5 separate regions of the Homo sapiens genome follow, and regions 1, 3, 4 and 5 are each linked to region 2. The links are contacts of gene promoters, found by promoter capture Hi-C in blood cells and fetal thymus (Javierre and others, 2016). All regions are on one chromosome and are shown on one strand. The core of a region is centred on a gene start or on the middle of the fragment in contact, and the rest is flanking DNA. Distances in the headings are between cores, read along the strand shown.

Region 1 (2,801 bases), core at 21-2,520, 290 kb after region 2:
TTCCATATTACTCCAAGATTAAATTCCTGTTTCAATATTCCAAAATTTTTTAAGAAAATTAATGTTTTTCCTGGGTTGCCATTGATGTTTTACACATGTGTGCATATTTACTGTCATTGATTGATCATATTCCTATTATTTTACCTATAAGAAGAAAATCTCGGAAAACTAAAATTAATTAGGTCCACAGAAGGACTCTGCATAATTCAGTAATCAGTTTTGCCCTCTGCTGTTTCCCCATGCTTAGCACAAAGAGATACAAAATTTGCATGTGTTGTTGAATTATATTTCAGAAGTCAAAAGCATTATTTAACTGCTTTAATATCTTTCTTTTCTTAATTCTAAGAAATGTAATTTTATTACATTTATTTGAACAAAGGTCTTGAGCGTCTACATTTTATAAACATATCTTAGAATATAATTTTAGTGTCTTGGTAAACCTATTGATGCTGTCTGATTGACTATCCTAGTAAATTTTATGTGAGATAATAAATTGATCTTCTTTTTTAACTACCCAAATTAACACATCTGTAAATGTTTCATTTTTAGTTTAAGCTATTGAGGTAGGACTGATAGAATTGCCTGCCTCAGGTATTCAAATAACATTTTTTAATGACTTTAGATGTTGTCTTTACCCAGTAGCAAGCATGTAGCATCATCTGGTCTCCATAATTTGGATTTTTAAGAAGCTATTTAGGTTGCACTATGATTTTTCAGAAAATGCTTTGTAACAAACAGTTAACAGGTAAGATTGTCTTGCTCTCTAGGAAATGTTACATGAAATAGTTTTTACTCCTTTTATTTATTCTTTCTTAACTTCTGATAGAACACATCTGGAAATTCCTTTTGCAGCTTCTCTTCCAACATACCCTTACCATCCATCATTCTCTAAAGCAGGGATTTCTTACCTGGGGTCCCTGAGTTTCCCAGTGATACTCAAAGAAGTCTGTTTTTTAAAACAGATCAAAAACGCTGTTCAAAGGGGCATTCTCTGTCACACCAACACAGATTTTTTAAAGACCTGCATTGAGATGACAAATAGGTTTGAAAAGTAGCCACATAGTATTGGGTTTTACCTTGGCGTCTCTGACATTCCATGATGACGTCTGTCCCTGGGATTGTTCAGCAATCCCCCTCTCCATCACACTTTAGTAAATGAAGACGGTGACATTTCCCGGGACTGTATCTAATGGACAACAGTTAACATTGTTCAGAACCCATATAATAGAACTCACAAATTTTAATATTATGCGTCATTATTTCTGATTATTAATTTCCTAGTGCTGAATTTAAGAAACAAAAACCTTTCTGTAATGAAAGCAAAGCATGAGTGAACCCTAAATTTTAGCAGTAAATTCTATTTAATTCTATTTGCACAATTTCAGAGTATTTAAACTTATTTTATATTCGTGTGTATGGTGTTGCAATATGATTGTTTGTTTTATTTTTCTATTGTATGTTTAGTTCAAGCAGTAAATCCCAGGATCAGCAATCTTACTGCTGCAGCTGCTGAGACCTATGCCAATATCAGTTGGGAATATGAGGGACCAGAGCATGTGAACTTTTATGTTGAATATGGTGTAGCAGGCAGTAAGAAACAATTTCATTACCCGATTTTTAATTTGGGGGATGCATTTTTTAAAAGATTAAAAACATTCTTAAGAATTTACTATGGATCATCTTGAAAAATAACTTGATCCAATTAAATGAATGAGTTATCTAAAAAAATTATAGTGAACCATCAGCCTACCACATATTATATGCACGACTAGGAATTGCTTTTTTATGTTATTAATAACAGAGGGCATATGTTCCATTACGTATGTTATTTTCATATCATAGTACTTGAAACTAGTTCTGTGCCCACAACACATAAACAAGAGTAAGAAGGAATAATTATATTTGCAAGTACAATAGAAAAGAAGAAAAGGTTTTTTTTTCAAATTGGATCTTGAAGTAACAGAAATCAAACTGACTTGAAAGTATTCATTTTGCCCTGACTAGCCCAACAGAATTTTATAAGAAACCGCAGAAAATTAATACTTTGGGAGAGCATTCATTATGTTTTAACGTTTGATGTATTCTCAAGTCAGGCACTCTTCGTAGATCCTGGCCACATCTACTGGGAGATGGGGCAGCTTTCACTTTCAGCAGTTTATGAAAAGCCAGTACCCCCCTCCTAAGTGCAGTGTGCTTACATAGAACAAATGAGGTGGCCAATAAATGTTTGTGACAAAATGTTGAACAGAGTCCAACTTTCTGTTTAAGCCTTTATCATGCAAGTAAATGTTTTTAGAAATGACGATCCCTTTAGAAAAACCGGTACTTGGGAAAGGTTGAATCGATTAATTGGATACGTTGGAAGGCATTTAAGTTTACTAAAAGATTCATCTTGTGAATCATAAAAAAACAATTCTTCCCATAGTTCACTTAAGCTAATTAATGTGTATCAGTTCTTTTGAGAAACATCTTTAGAGAAACTCAACAGTTTCATAAGGCAAGGTGCAGATAAAGAACCTTCCTTTGTATTAAAGAGGAGAATTAATACAATGGGAATATATACAATTAATAAGCAAGCTAGATACCCAGTCTATTTTTCTTTGAGGATATTTTCCTGTAGGTCATTTTAATTGATTTGTTTGACATGACTACATTTATAATAATCTAAAATGGTAAACCTAAGCATCCTACATCTTGTCTTTAGCTTATAAAGAATTTTCCTTTCTTGAAGCATTAAGTGACTTCTGGTCCCTTAAAATATTCAAATGTGTTGTTTTTGCAAAATTTCCATAGGCAAAGAA
Region 2 (2,994 bases), core at 266-2,765:
GAATTTACTTTGTAGGCAATAGAGAACCAGCCCACCAGCCCAGACTTTCAAGTAGGGGGATCATGGAATCTTTTTTTTTGCGGGGGGGAAGGTATTTTAGAGGAAAATTTGGACAATTAGTTGAGAGGTGCAAGGTACCACCTGAATGGCAGTTGGGTAAGGACTAGAGTCAGAAGAACCACTGATGGGACTGTGGAAACAACTTGTGCAATGACCCAGCAGCCAGATATCATGCTGGTTCAGGAACCGAGGGAGGCTCTGTGAGGCCAGAGCACATTTGGCTGGAGAAGGAGGAGAGGATGGCAGTAGAAGGAGAAGGAAAAGAAGGCTGCTCACTTGCATGCAGATGCTGTGAGCTGACGGGGCAAGTTCAAATTGAAGTTAGAACAGACCACTGGGGTAGTCAAGACCTTGAAGGATGAACCTGTTTCTTTTTCATTCCTGAATCTTGCCCCAGCACCTTGGAGGCTGGGGGTGGAGGAGGTGGTGAGGTGGGGTGGGGTGGTGAGGAGCTCAGAAAATGTTTTCCTGAATTAGAGAACTGAAGGAATCAAGGCTCCGCTGAGCTCACTAAGCGCTGGAGCCTGCTGTAAGTGGTCAAGTCGGGTGATACCCAGCAGACAAGTAATTTGTGTGCAGACCGGAGTAGATTACGGAGGACCCAAGGGTCAGGCTAAGGATCCTGAACACCATCCACGATAGAGTGGAGACGTGCGCTTCGGAGCCTGAACTATGCAGCAAGCAGTGTGTTTACTCAAATACTATACAGTTGGAAAATCTTAATTCTCGATTTACATTGCCAAAAAAAAAAAAAAAAAATCTCCATAATACTCCCCCATTTGTAAATAAGCAAATCCGAACTAACCCTATTCCTTGGGACCAGAAGACCCAGTTTCTACCGCGGATAGATAGCATCCGCCTTATGCTAAAAGCTCTTTTTTCTGCGGTGGTGGGGGGCGGCGGGGAGTGTTTGGAAAGAACGGTTGCAAAAACAAAACAAAACCCCCAAAACCACTCACCCAATCTCAACCACCCCAACTGATGAATTTCGAAGAAAGTGCTTTTTAAAAAAGAAAAAACTAGAAGACCACAGACCTCCCACAGAAAGCTAAACCCATGAGAGTGGCATTCAAAAACTACCCATTTTCTGGAACATCTTTTGTAGCTAAATCCCAGCCATCCTAGCCCCGGAACACTCCCGCCCTCCGTCCCCGCACCCCCACCCCCGCCGCCACACGCGCTCGCAGGCTGACGGAGGTTGGCGGTGGGGCGGCCGCTCAGGTGAGGGGCCACCCAGTCCCTCGAGGCGCCGGCGGCTGGAGCCCATTCGCTGCCGTCGCAGCAGCAGGGCAAGAGGGGGTTGGCCAGGAGGGGAGGAGGCGGAGGACGCCCGCAGGGAGTGCGGGGGAGGGGGACGGGAGGACGCTAAGGAGAGCCGGGAGGGGCAAAAGCACGGCGCGGGGAGGGGGAGCGGAGAGGGCGGGAGCGGCGGGGGCGCGCGCCGGCGCGGGGCCAGCCTCGCTTCGCCAGGGTCGCTGGCGGACGCGCGCCGCAGTCCGAGCCTCAGACGCGCGGGCGCGGGGGACGGCGCAGGGGCCGCCTGGCTGGAGCAGCCAGAGGGGATAGCTTCGTCGAGAACGGAGGACACCGGCGGTCCAGGGTCCTGGGCAGTCGCGCCAGAGCTGAGCGGAGGGCGCGGCGCGAGAACGTAAGTAGCTCCTTGCGCGTCTGGCGGTGACACTGGGTCCTGCTCGGGGGTGACGGCTGGAGCGGAGGAGGACGCGCGAGGCTGCTGCGTTGTCACTTGGACACCGCCGCGGGGTTCAGCCGAGCGCTCACCGGGCTGGCAGCGCTGCAGGAGGGGCAAAGCAGATCTCCAACTCCCTTCTCCCCTGCAGGCCCCCGACACTCCCGCGGGCGCCGAGAGGGAGCAGGGGGACCTGCGCTTGGGTGAAGGCACAGCTGAAATCCAGCAGCGCCGGCACCCACCACCCCCTCCAGCCTGTGGCCAACTTCTGCTCCGCGCCCGCACCCCACGCTTTCCGGGAAGCCCTGCCCAGAGCTCTTGCTCGTGGGCAGTTGGGCATGGAGAGCCTGCGGGCCCGGCACGGCGGCTTCCCGGGCTTGGACACGGAGGCGCGGGGCGTCACGCCACAGTGCCGGCGGGGCGAGGAGCGCGGGGGCCGGGCCGGGAGCGCACGGGCGTGTGCCTGTTCGGGCCCCTGCGGACACGTCTGGGCGTGGGCTTTGTTCGGAAGTGCGTACACCTGTGCTGACCACGGAGTTCGGGGGCGAGGCCGACTTCGCTTCTCCAGTCGCTGCCTGGAGAGGGCTCGGGGAATCGAGGCGGAACGAGAGAGACACGGAGGACAGAGGGGTGGGGCGCTTGCGGGGGCTTTGTCGGCCTTACAGGTGCGGGTCCCGGGAGTCCCTGCGCCCCGCCCTGCCTCCGAGGGCTGGGACTTGTCGGGGCCGGCGCACCGGGCTGGGGGCTGCCTGGAAAGATTGCTTTCCCAGCCCAGGCTCTTAGCGGTGGGATCTGGCATCCGCTCCGCCCGGGATGCTGTGTTGAGCCAGGAGTGATTACCCGCCCTGGAGCATCCATCTCGCAGCGAGCGCCATCTGCGCCGAGCGCCGCCCCCGGCCCCCTCCACGCCGCGCGGGTGGGCGCTGCCGCATCCTGGTCCCAGGCGGTTGGCCAGCTCAGCTACTCCCGGCCCGCATCTGCTAGAGTGCGGAGGGGGACGGGGTGTCGCAGTAGGGTGAGCAAGGGAGTCGTCATTTCTCCCAAAGCGGTGTCCTCAGGGCCGCAAGCGCTGCTGGAGGGCTCCCCGGGCCCCGGGGCTGGCGAACAGGCCGCTTCCTTCCCCGGATCGCCTCCCCTCCCGCCCGCGCCCGCGGCCACATCTTCGTCCCCCGTACGCTGGCGGGTGGCCCCTGCGCCGCGGGCACCGAGGGAGGGCGCCGAGCGGTGGCGTTTCTTTCGCACCCCGC
Region 3 (2,984 bases), core at 191-2,690, 330 kb after region 2:
ATCACTCAAGAATGCAACAAGCTTTTAAAATTTACATATCTCAAAAGGCAAAAAAGACAATATGAAATTCCAATGTTTGAAATAAGTTTAAAAATTATATAAATTTTAATGCCTAGAGTTTATGCTTTGCACAATAATTTAAGAGTCTAAAGGGAAAATAGTATTGGTCTAATAAAACAGATCACAAACCCGTCAATTGAACAAACTGAAAGTCCCTTGATTTCACTCACACACTTTGCTGAAGTATCCACCTAAAAACCAAATACTGCTCTTTGGTCTCCTACCACCTGGTACTTTGTGGCAGCTGTTGGCTTGTAAAAAATAAATAAAACAAGTTAGTTTAGCAAATATTGACTGCAAGCTTCTTCTATACTTCATCCTAAAATGGAAAAGACATGTTCCTGCCCTCTTGGAGTTTGCTTTCTAGTACATCAGAAGTGAGCAGATGAACCTGACCTATAGGGAACAAAATTAAAAACAGTGGCATCGATGGAAAAATAGAGCAATAAATTAAAACACAAATAACAGGTAAGAAGCATTGAAAAATACCCTTGAAAAAGCTTAAAGGCCTGTAAGAGTGGTATTTGGTGAAAGTTTGTTGAATCTATTTCCTGATTTGTAAATGTTGTGTAAAAATGAGCATCTCATTTTGGCTCAGTTCACAATCATTTTTCTTCCCTAAGGGTATTTTCCATGAGCTTCTAGAAATCCTAAATGTTTTTTCAAGCAACCAATAAACTTACCCATTGAAACTGCACAGATTTGAAATGGAGATATTAATCCACTGACAAGTGAATAAAATGTAAGATTGCTGTAGGTTCATTTCTATACTATAAACCTTCCTCGTAGGAGAATGAAATTTCAAACCACATGGATTCCAAAACCACTTAAACTTGCCATTCCCACAATGGTTAGTTGTACTTGCCGAATCACAAGGTAAACAGAAATCTATGAGCCATTTAAGATGATCTTGAGCCAGGTAGGACTGGTCAGAGCCTTGGGAACCCATCTGAAACTATTCCACCTGGTCCGCCTGAAAGTAGATTGGGATGGAGTCAGGGGTCTCACATTCCTGAGAAACAAGCCCATCTAATTCCGCACATTTTATAGCTGGTAAGTATCAAGCTGTCTGAAAATGACCGCTAAAACATGAACCAGAAAAACATAAATAAATCAGGGAACAAAATGTCTGTGCATTATTCCTGGCTATTAAAATTGGTTTTAGAGAAAACAAGAAAAATATTTGCTGTAAAACTGAGCTCTATTTCCCTGTTTATGTGTGTGTGTGGGTGTGTGTGTGTGTATAAGTTAAAACTTAAGTGACTTCACAAATCACCTTTTTGACAGGCATTGGAATACCTCTTGTCTTTTTTTTTCCCTACTTTTAGGTGCCTCGGGGAGAATGTTTTCTACATAAACTGGCTCTAACTTTCAGGTGTGTCTTCACATGCCCCGTTTGCTGCCTGAACCTCTCCACAAAGACTCCCAGATCCTGGTAAGTCTTGCCTGCTCTCTCACTAGCAAATTGGCATTTTTATGGATTAAATGAAGGTATTAGAATTTAGGGGGTAAGTGGAGTTGTCATAAAGTAAGAAATGGGACATATTAGCACATAGATTACTATTACTTTTACAGAATGATAGTCCAATGACACTTAAATAAAGGTTCTTGCAACATAAAACAGTATCCAATGGGAAAATTGATGTTAGTGCATTGTGATATGAAGCCAACAACTTGAGCCTTACTGTACCTTGAAGGGAGCTTCAAATGATGTAGTGTTGAAATGTACAACTGTATTGTGTTTTCAGCAAATGTTTGTTTTTGTTATGGTTATAAAACTTATGACAACTTATAAAAGTTTAAATGCATTAGAACTACCCATATTTTCAAAATATTTTGTTAATGTTCTAGATATGTGTAAATATTGTTTTAAGAAAAGCAAGTCTGCTATAACTAAAAGAAACATAAACTTGGCCGGGCATGGTGGCTCATGCCTGTAATCCCAGCCCTCTGGGAGGCCGAGGCAGGCAAATTGCTTGAGCTCAGGAGGTCAAGACCAGCCTGAGCAACATGGCGAAACCCCATCTCTGTAAAAACTATACAGCCGTAGTGGCACATGCCTGTAATCCCAGCTACTCAGGAGGTTGAGATGGAAGGACTGCTTAAGCATGGGAGGTTGAGGTTGCAGTGAACCAAGAATGTGCCACTGTACTACAGCCTGGGTGACAGAGGAAGACTCTGTCTCCAAAAAAAAAAAAAAAGTAAACTTTATAGTTCTGTATTCTGCATTCCTCACTATGATGAAATTTAGGCAAAACAGTTGAAATATCTAATGAGTCCTGACATAACATGAAAAAAAGTTAGACAAAGGAAAGTTAAATACAAGATTTCTGAGAACTGTCACTTTATAGACAATTATTTGTGTACCAGAAAAAGTCTTAAGGGCTAATATAAATGTATTTATAATTATCTTCTGTGTTATAAATTACTGTCCAATTTGCAGAAGAAAGGTGCTGTAGTAGAAACAGGAGCGGAATGCATGTCTTTCCTGCGGAGAGGCTCTTATCAAACACGATGCACCTGTGGTTCTAGGAGCTGGGCAAATGGGCACCACATGGCCCTTTTCTCTTCATCTGTTTCATCCAAATTGTTTTGACAAAAAAGAGTAAACTCTTTGCAGCCTTCAAGTGAGAGCAGATGAGGCAAATATAAGTGAATGGTCAGTAAATTAAATAAATTAGCAATGCCAGAAAGTTACTTTCAGTCTAATATATTTCACTGTTTATTGCAACACTTAATACATTTTAAGACCAGTGTCATCTAGCAGCATTCATTAAACGGCTACCAAAATGCACCCAGCGCCTTTGGAAATACGTTTATACATATCTCATCCAAAGGAGGGAAAATGTTTTGTTTATTACTCCTAATCACTTTTACATATATTACTAAAACTCACTGATGAATTTAACAAGAAAAGAGTGCCA
Region 4 (2,839 bases), core at 240-2,739, 300 kb after region 2:
TAGATTGCTAAATTTGGTTTGGTCATGGTTTGTTTGGGGTTTTTTCATCTATGTTCATGAATGAGATTAGCCTGTAGTTTGACTTTCTTAAAGCATTCTTATTGGTTTTGGATATCAATGTTATACTAGCCTCAAAAAATGATTAAAGGAGTGGTTCTCATGACATATTCAAACTTTAATATCTCAAAATGGAACCATTGATTTTCCCCTCCCAACATGCTCCACTCCATAGTAACAGTACTTCCAAGCTTCCTGTTGCTCAAACCAAAAATCCTGGCACCATCTTTTTCTCTGTTATTCCATGTCTAACCTATCAGAAAATCCTGTTGGCTCTACCTTCAAAATATGTTCATAATCTGAGCATTTTATACCACCTCCAGTGTTCCACTCTGGTCCAAGTCACAGTCATCTCACTCCTGGATTATTGTAATATTCTCCCCTGACTCTATAGAGCAGAGGTTGGCCAACTAAATATTTTAGACTTTACAGGCCGCGCGGTCTCTGCTGCAACTCTGCAATTCTGCTATTGTAGTGCTAAAGCAGCCATAGACATTATGTGATAAATGGGCGTGGCCTAATTTTACTGTAGTTTACCAACCCCAGCCCTCTAAGGTAGGCTATTCTCAACACTGATGGCAGAGTAGTGCTTTTAAAATATAAGTCAGAGCATGTCACTTATTCTTTGAAACCCTCCCAGGGCTTCCTGTCTCACTCAGAGTTAAAGGCAGCGTCCTTACAATGTTCCACAAGCCCTGATTTAGCCGTGCCACTCCCCTTACTTAACTCCTACTTTTCTCTCTCTCTCTCTCCCTCCCCCCAGCCACACCAAGCTCCTTAGTGTTCCTAGAACCTGCCAGGCTTCCCCTCACCCCGAGACATTTATACTGCTTGTTACTCCTGCAGGAACTGCTCTCCCTCCAACTATTCACCTTGCTAACTCAACTCTTTTAAAGTTGTTGACCAGATATTACTGCTTGATGAGGTCTTCCTGGACATCTTATTAAATGCCAGCTCTCCATCCCTTCTCCAACACCTTCTGCAGTCTTTACTCAGCTCTATACTTTGCATAGTGCTAATCCTCTTCTGACATAATATATATGTAATTTTTTTTATTATGTTGATTGTTAATTGTATTTTCTTCCACTAGAAATAAAGCCAGTGAGGTGAGGGTTTTAGTCTGTTTTGTTTGCTGCTATATTCCCAGTGCCGAGAACAATCTATCTTAGAGTAGTCACTCAATAAACATTTATTGGATGAAGGCATGGGTGGATAGATGGCTAGACCAAAGAAATGCCACAGATGACAAATTTCCAGCAGTGTATTCCTTGGGACACTAGTTCTACAGAGCAGAATAAGACTAGTCATTGGAATCCAGGTGACAAATTCTGCCTGTTATTGAACTCTTCAGCTGAATTAACTGTCACACTGAAACATGAACTATATTTCACAAGAAGGATTTAATAATTAAACCCCAGAGATGTTGTGTAGGCTATTTTCATAACAGGTTAGACACTCAATGCTATGTCCTCTGAAATGCTCACAAACACAGACCACCCCAAGATGATACCTCTCCAGTTGTTTATTAGCAGTGGTGAAAATATAGTTTATTCAGTTTGCAATAAGAAATTGTGTATTACTGAAACAGGTTGTTTTCAGTGGCATATGCCAGTGTCATATTATGCTAGCATTATTTCCCAGTCTTCAGATTTTCTTCTTGGAGAAAAATTGAAATCCCTAGTAAAAGTTATTGTCAAAAGAGCCAGGATACTTGTGCATCTTGAAATGTTTGTATCTTGGCTTGAAAAAAAAAGTCACTGTCTGAAACAGAGGGAGCAGTAAAGTCTTAGCAGAAATTGCTAGATTAAATACTGCAGCCAGTGATACCTTTTGTATGTTAAGGCTTTTTCATTTTTACATTAGTAAAAATGTATATGTTTCCTATTTTGCCTTGCATTTTTGTTCTTTGAAAGAAAACAAAATGTTAGATCCTGTCATTGCCTTTTTCTATTTTTTTCCCAAATGTTACCTATTAAAAAATAGGTCAATATGCATAACTAGGTATTTGACCGTATGGGTGAACATTCAAAAACATAATGATTACTCTTTGTCTTCCAGAAATTGTGCTTACGGGTTCAACAGAGAAATAAGCAAAAATTGTAATAATGGAATCTTGTAAAGTCGTATTAAAGTACACTCCTCAGATTCCCATCCAGTATAGTCAGGCTGCATAACACACAAGGAAGAAGGGAGCTGGGGGGTTAACATGAGTGTAGGAAGCATTTGCTATTACATGTTTGGAGTCATTCACATTCTTTAGAATATATTGGCATGCCATTCATAGTACAAATGTAGAGCTTTTAAGTTAAAGTGCGTCTCTTTCCAGATTAATAAATCTTTACTCATTAACTAAAATTTTTACCAAAAAAACAAAAAAATACTGTGTACTATCAGTATAAGGATTTTGCTTTTCTTCTTAGGCTGTTTTCATTTGTTTCTTCTGCATCCTTTTAATGGAATTTTGTAGGTCTCTTGAAAGGTAAGGTTGAAGTTTACAGTCTGGCCTGCATTGATAACAAAATTATTTGAAATGCAGGATTTTGCTTCTCCTTCTGGCTCAGAAAAAAAAAATCCACATTTCACACTTAACCAAAATCATGCTCCATTCACAACCAAGGAATCAGAGATATTATGCAGTTTAACATACTAACTTCTTTACTTGCCATAAGCTTTTGCCTTTTTGAATTCAAAATAGTGATGATTTTTCTACTTTTCTGAATTCTTTCTTATTTAATGCTTGTGATTATTTCTGGATTGCTTTCAACTCAGGAATCAGAATTTG
Region 5 (2,874 bases), core at 89-2,588, 360 kb after region 2:
TTGATGTCATCTTAGGCAATTTTCAAGTGGTGGTTTGTTTATTTATTTATTTATTTATTTGTGAGACGGAGTCTCGCTCTGTCACCCAGGCTGGAGTGCAGTGGCTGGGACTACAGGCGCCTGCCACCACGCCCGGCTAATTTTTTGTATTTTTAGTAGAGACGGGGTTTCACCGTGTTAGCCAAGATGGTCTCTGTCTCCTGACCTCGTGATCCGCCCGTCTCGGCCTCCCAAAGTGCTGGGATTACAGGCGTGAGCCGCCATGCCCGGCCTCTTTTTATTTTTTAAATTATGTTTCCCCTTTCTTCTCACACCCCTTCTAATATTGGTCCATATGTTCTCTGATAAAAGAAAAAATAATTAAAGAGCTCAGGGAAGCGGGGGAGCGGAAATAGAAAAACACCTCAGCAGTTTTCTAAGGCCAAATGAGCAGACCCTTAGCTATAGGATCACAGAAATTTAGAGCTGCTCCGGGCCTCCGTAGAGCTACAGATTCCTCAGAAACCCTGGGTAAATAATTTCCATTTGGTCACAGCCTCCTGCTCCATATTTTTGCCCATATAAGGAACTGTGGATTATTTGCATGTTTAGAAAACATTGGTCTGAATCTTTCTGTAATAAAACGCTCTTCTTAAGTTTGATGGCAAAATTAAATGTCATGATAATGAATTATATAGTCAAACCAATTTCCCATCATACCTTTCAGCATTCCACATGTTTCTCTGACTCTCTGACTAAAATGATGTCCTCCAAGAACAGGCTGAACATTATTTTGGTGTGTGGGGGTGTATACCAGCTTTAAATTTTTTTTTTTTTTTTTTTTTTTTTTTTTTTTTGAGAGAGACAGAGTCTTGTTTTGTCATCAAGGCTGGCTTACAGTGGCACAATCATAGCTCACTGCAGCCTTAAACTCCTGGACTCAAGCAATTTTCTCACCTCAGCATTCAAGTAGCTAGAACTACAAGCATGTGCCACCACAGCCATCTAATTTTTTTTTTTTTTTTTTTTGAGAGACGGAGTCTCACTGTGTTTCCTAGGCTGGTCTTCAACTCCTGATCCCAAGCAACCCTTCCGCCTCACCTTCCCAAAGTGCTGGGATTCTAGACATAAGCCACTGTGCCCAGCCCATAACAGCTTTATTGAATATAATTTACATACCATACAATTCACCCTGTAAACAATTCAATAATTTTTAGTATATTGGAAGTTGTGTAATCATCACCACAATCATTTTCATCCCCCCACAAAAGAAACCCCTCTTCTGCATATATACCCAAAATAATTGAAAGCAGAGCTTTGAAGGGATATTTGTATTTCCATGTTCACAGCAACACTAGCCAAAAGGTGGAAGTAACCCAAGTATCCACTGATGGATGAGTGGGTAAACAAAATGTGGTATTTACATACAATGGAATCTTATTCTTCCTTAAAAAGGAAAAAAATTCTGACACATCCATCAACATGGATGATCCTTAAGAACATTATGCAAAGTAAAAGAAGGCAGTCACAAAAAGACAAAGACTATATAATTCCACTTATATGAGGTACCCAGAGTAGTCAAAATCAGACCGAAAGCAGCACGGTGGTTGCTAGGGATTAGAGGGGAGAAGGAGTGGGGAGTTATTATATAAAGGGCATAGAGTTTCAGTTTTGTAGGATGAAAAGCGTTCTGGAGTTTGTTTATGCAACGATGTTAATGTGCTTAACACAATTGAACTGCCTGCTTAAAATGGTTAAGATGGTACAATTAGTAATGTTTTCAAGTTTTATCCATATTGCAGATTACATCGGTCTTTATTTTTTATTGCTGAATAACATACTATTGTACAGAGGTGCCACTTTTATTTATCCATTCATTAGTCAATGGGACATTTGGGTTATTTCCATGAACGTTGGTATTTGCTGCAAGTGTATTCCTTGCTCTGGTAGCATGTCTTTTTAGCCTTTGCAACATATGCAGGGCTCAGAAATGTCTACGGGTAGAGGAGAAGAAGGAGGGGGGAATTAAGACAAAAAGTAACAAAGTACTAAAGGAGAGAAGAGAGAGTGGGATTCCAGATGCATCTGCCAGAGAAGGAGCGATCAGTAATAACCATGACTCCCAGAAACTCCTGCCTCTGAGTCACCAGCCTGGTCAGCATCACTTAGGGTTACTGTGCCAGTACTGCAGCATGTACAACTAGCTACACCTACTTGTCTCCTCCTCCTAATTGCCATCCAGTAAAACTACATGAGGCTCTGGAAGTGCCTGACACAGGATTTCCTCTGTGAGGTTATATGCAAAACAATAATCACGCAGCCAGGCACACAATAAACCTGGCAGGGCAGGCTTCTCTGTGTTCTTGCGGTTATGCTTCTTGCTTTGTGTGAGCTATTAAGTACACTTGCAAGAGTGGAGGAATTAAGAATGAGAATAATTGTGTATGCTGTGCTTTCAGCCTGCGACTGTAACCCCCTTGGGAGTCTGCCATTCTTGACCTGTGATGTGGATACAGGCCAATGCTTGTGCCTGTCATATGTCACCGGAGCACACTGCGAAGAATGCACTGTATGTATTTGCCTATAGTTTCCCTTTTCTATAGTGATACAGATTTCTATTGCCATTGCCTAGGTAAGACTTGGTTTTGCTAATCTCTTTCTTGTCCTATTGTGTTTTAATACTCCAGTGGTATGAGTATTTACACTACAGAAATCAGCAAACACTACCTATCAGCCTCCCCTCACCCCTGCATTGAGCTGCCTGTTAAACATTTACCAGCTCACCACTGGACTGGACTAAACCGACCCAGGCACAGATATTATTAGGTTTATCCACTCTTTTCCTGAAAATGCCAAGCAGTAGAATAGAAGCACATTTATCTGTCTATGTTTTGG

The links. Contacts are between HindIII fragments. The CHiCAGO score rates a contact against its expected background, and 5 or more counts as called.
Region 1: a contact is called between a fragment that was not itself captured here and the fragment with the promoter of NRCAM in region 2, in 9 of 17 cell types (total B cells, megakaryocytes, naive B cells and 6 more). The highest score is 11.2, in total B cells.
Region 3: the fragment with the promoter of LAMB4 here is called in contact with the fragment with the promoter of NRCAM in region 2 in 3 of 17 cell types (naive B cells, total B cells and endothelial precursors); the score reaches 6.5 in naive B cells.
Region 4: a contact is called between a fragment that was not itself captured here and the fragment with the promoter of NRCAM in region 2, in 4 of 17 cell types (endothelial precursors, total B cells, erythroblasts and 1 more). The highest score is 9.2, in endothelial precursors.
Region 5: a fragment that was not itself captured here is called in contact with the fragment with the promoter of NRCAM in region 2 in 1 of 17 cell types (fetal thymus); the score reaches 5.1 in fetal thymus.

What each region holds. Positions count from the first base shown.
Region 1 is chr7:108,167,066-108,169,866 of GRCh38, reverse strand. NRCAM (neuronal cell adhesion molecule) reads left to right here. Exons shown (of 33, transcript NM_001037132.4): 29 at 1,465-1,590; 30 at 2,794-2,801. It overlaps LOC102724363 (a long non-coding RNA gene), which reads right to left. Exons shown (of 4, transcript XR_002956579.2): 3 at 1,077-1,186. Among named protein-coding and RNA genes, the nearest start is that of LAMB4, 38 kb to the right of the region's middle. The HindIII fragment of the contact is 6,018 bases long and covers 1-2,801 here.
Region 2 is chr7:108,454,957-108,457,950 of GRCh38, reverse strand. It overlaps NRCAM (neuronal cell adhesion molecule), which reads left to right and starts at 1,515. Exons shown (of 33, transcript NM_001037132.4): 1 at 1,515-1,708. The HindIII fragment of the contact is 7,436 bases long and covers 1-2,994 here.
Region 3 is chr7:108,128,817-108,131,800 of GRCh38, reverse strand. LAMB4 (laminin subunit beta 4) reads left to right here and starts at 1,440. Exons shown (of 34, transcript NM_007356.3): 1 at 1,440-1,495. The HindIII fragment of the contact is 5,422 bases long and covers 563-2,984 here.
Region 4 is chr7:108,150,392-108,153,230 of GRCh38, reverse strand. All of the region lies in intron 32 of NRCAM (neuronal cell adhesion molecule), which reads left to right. Among named protein-coding and RNA genes, the nearest start is that of LAMB4, 21 kb to the right of the region's middle. The HindIII fragment of the contact is 2,478 bases long and covers 251-2,728 here.
Region 5 is chr7:108,094,902-108,097,775 of GRCh38, reverse strand. LAMB4 (laminin subunit beta 4) reads left to right here. Exons shown (of 34, transcript NM_007356.3): 12 at 2,439-2,548. Among named protein-coding and RNA genes, the nearest start is that of LAMB4, 34 kb to the left of the region's middle. The HindIII fragment of the contact is 3,277 bases long and covers 1-2,874 here.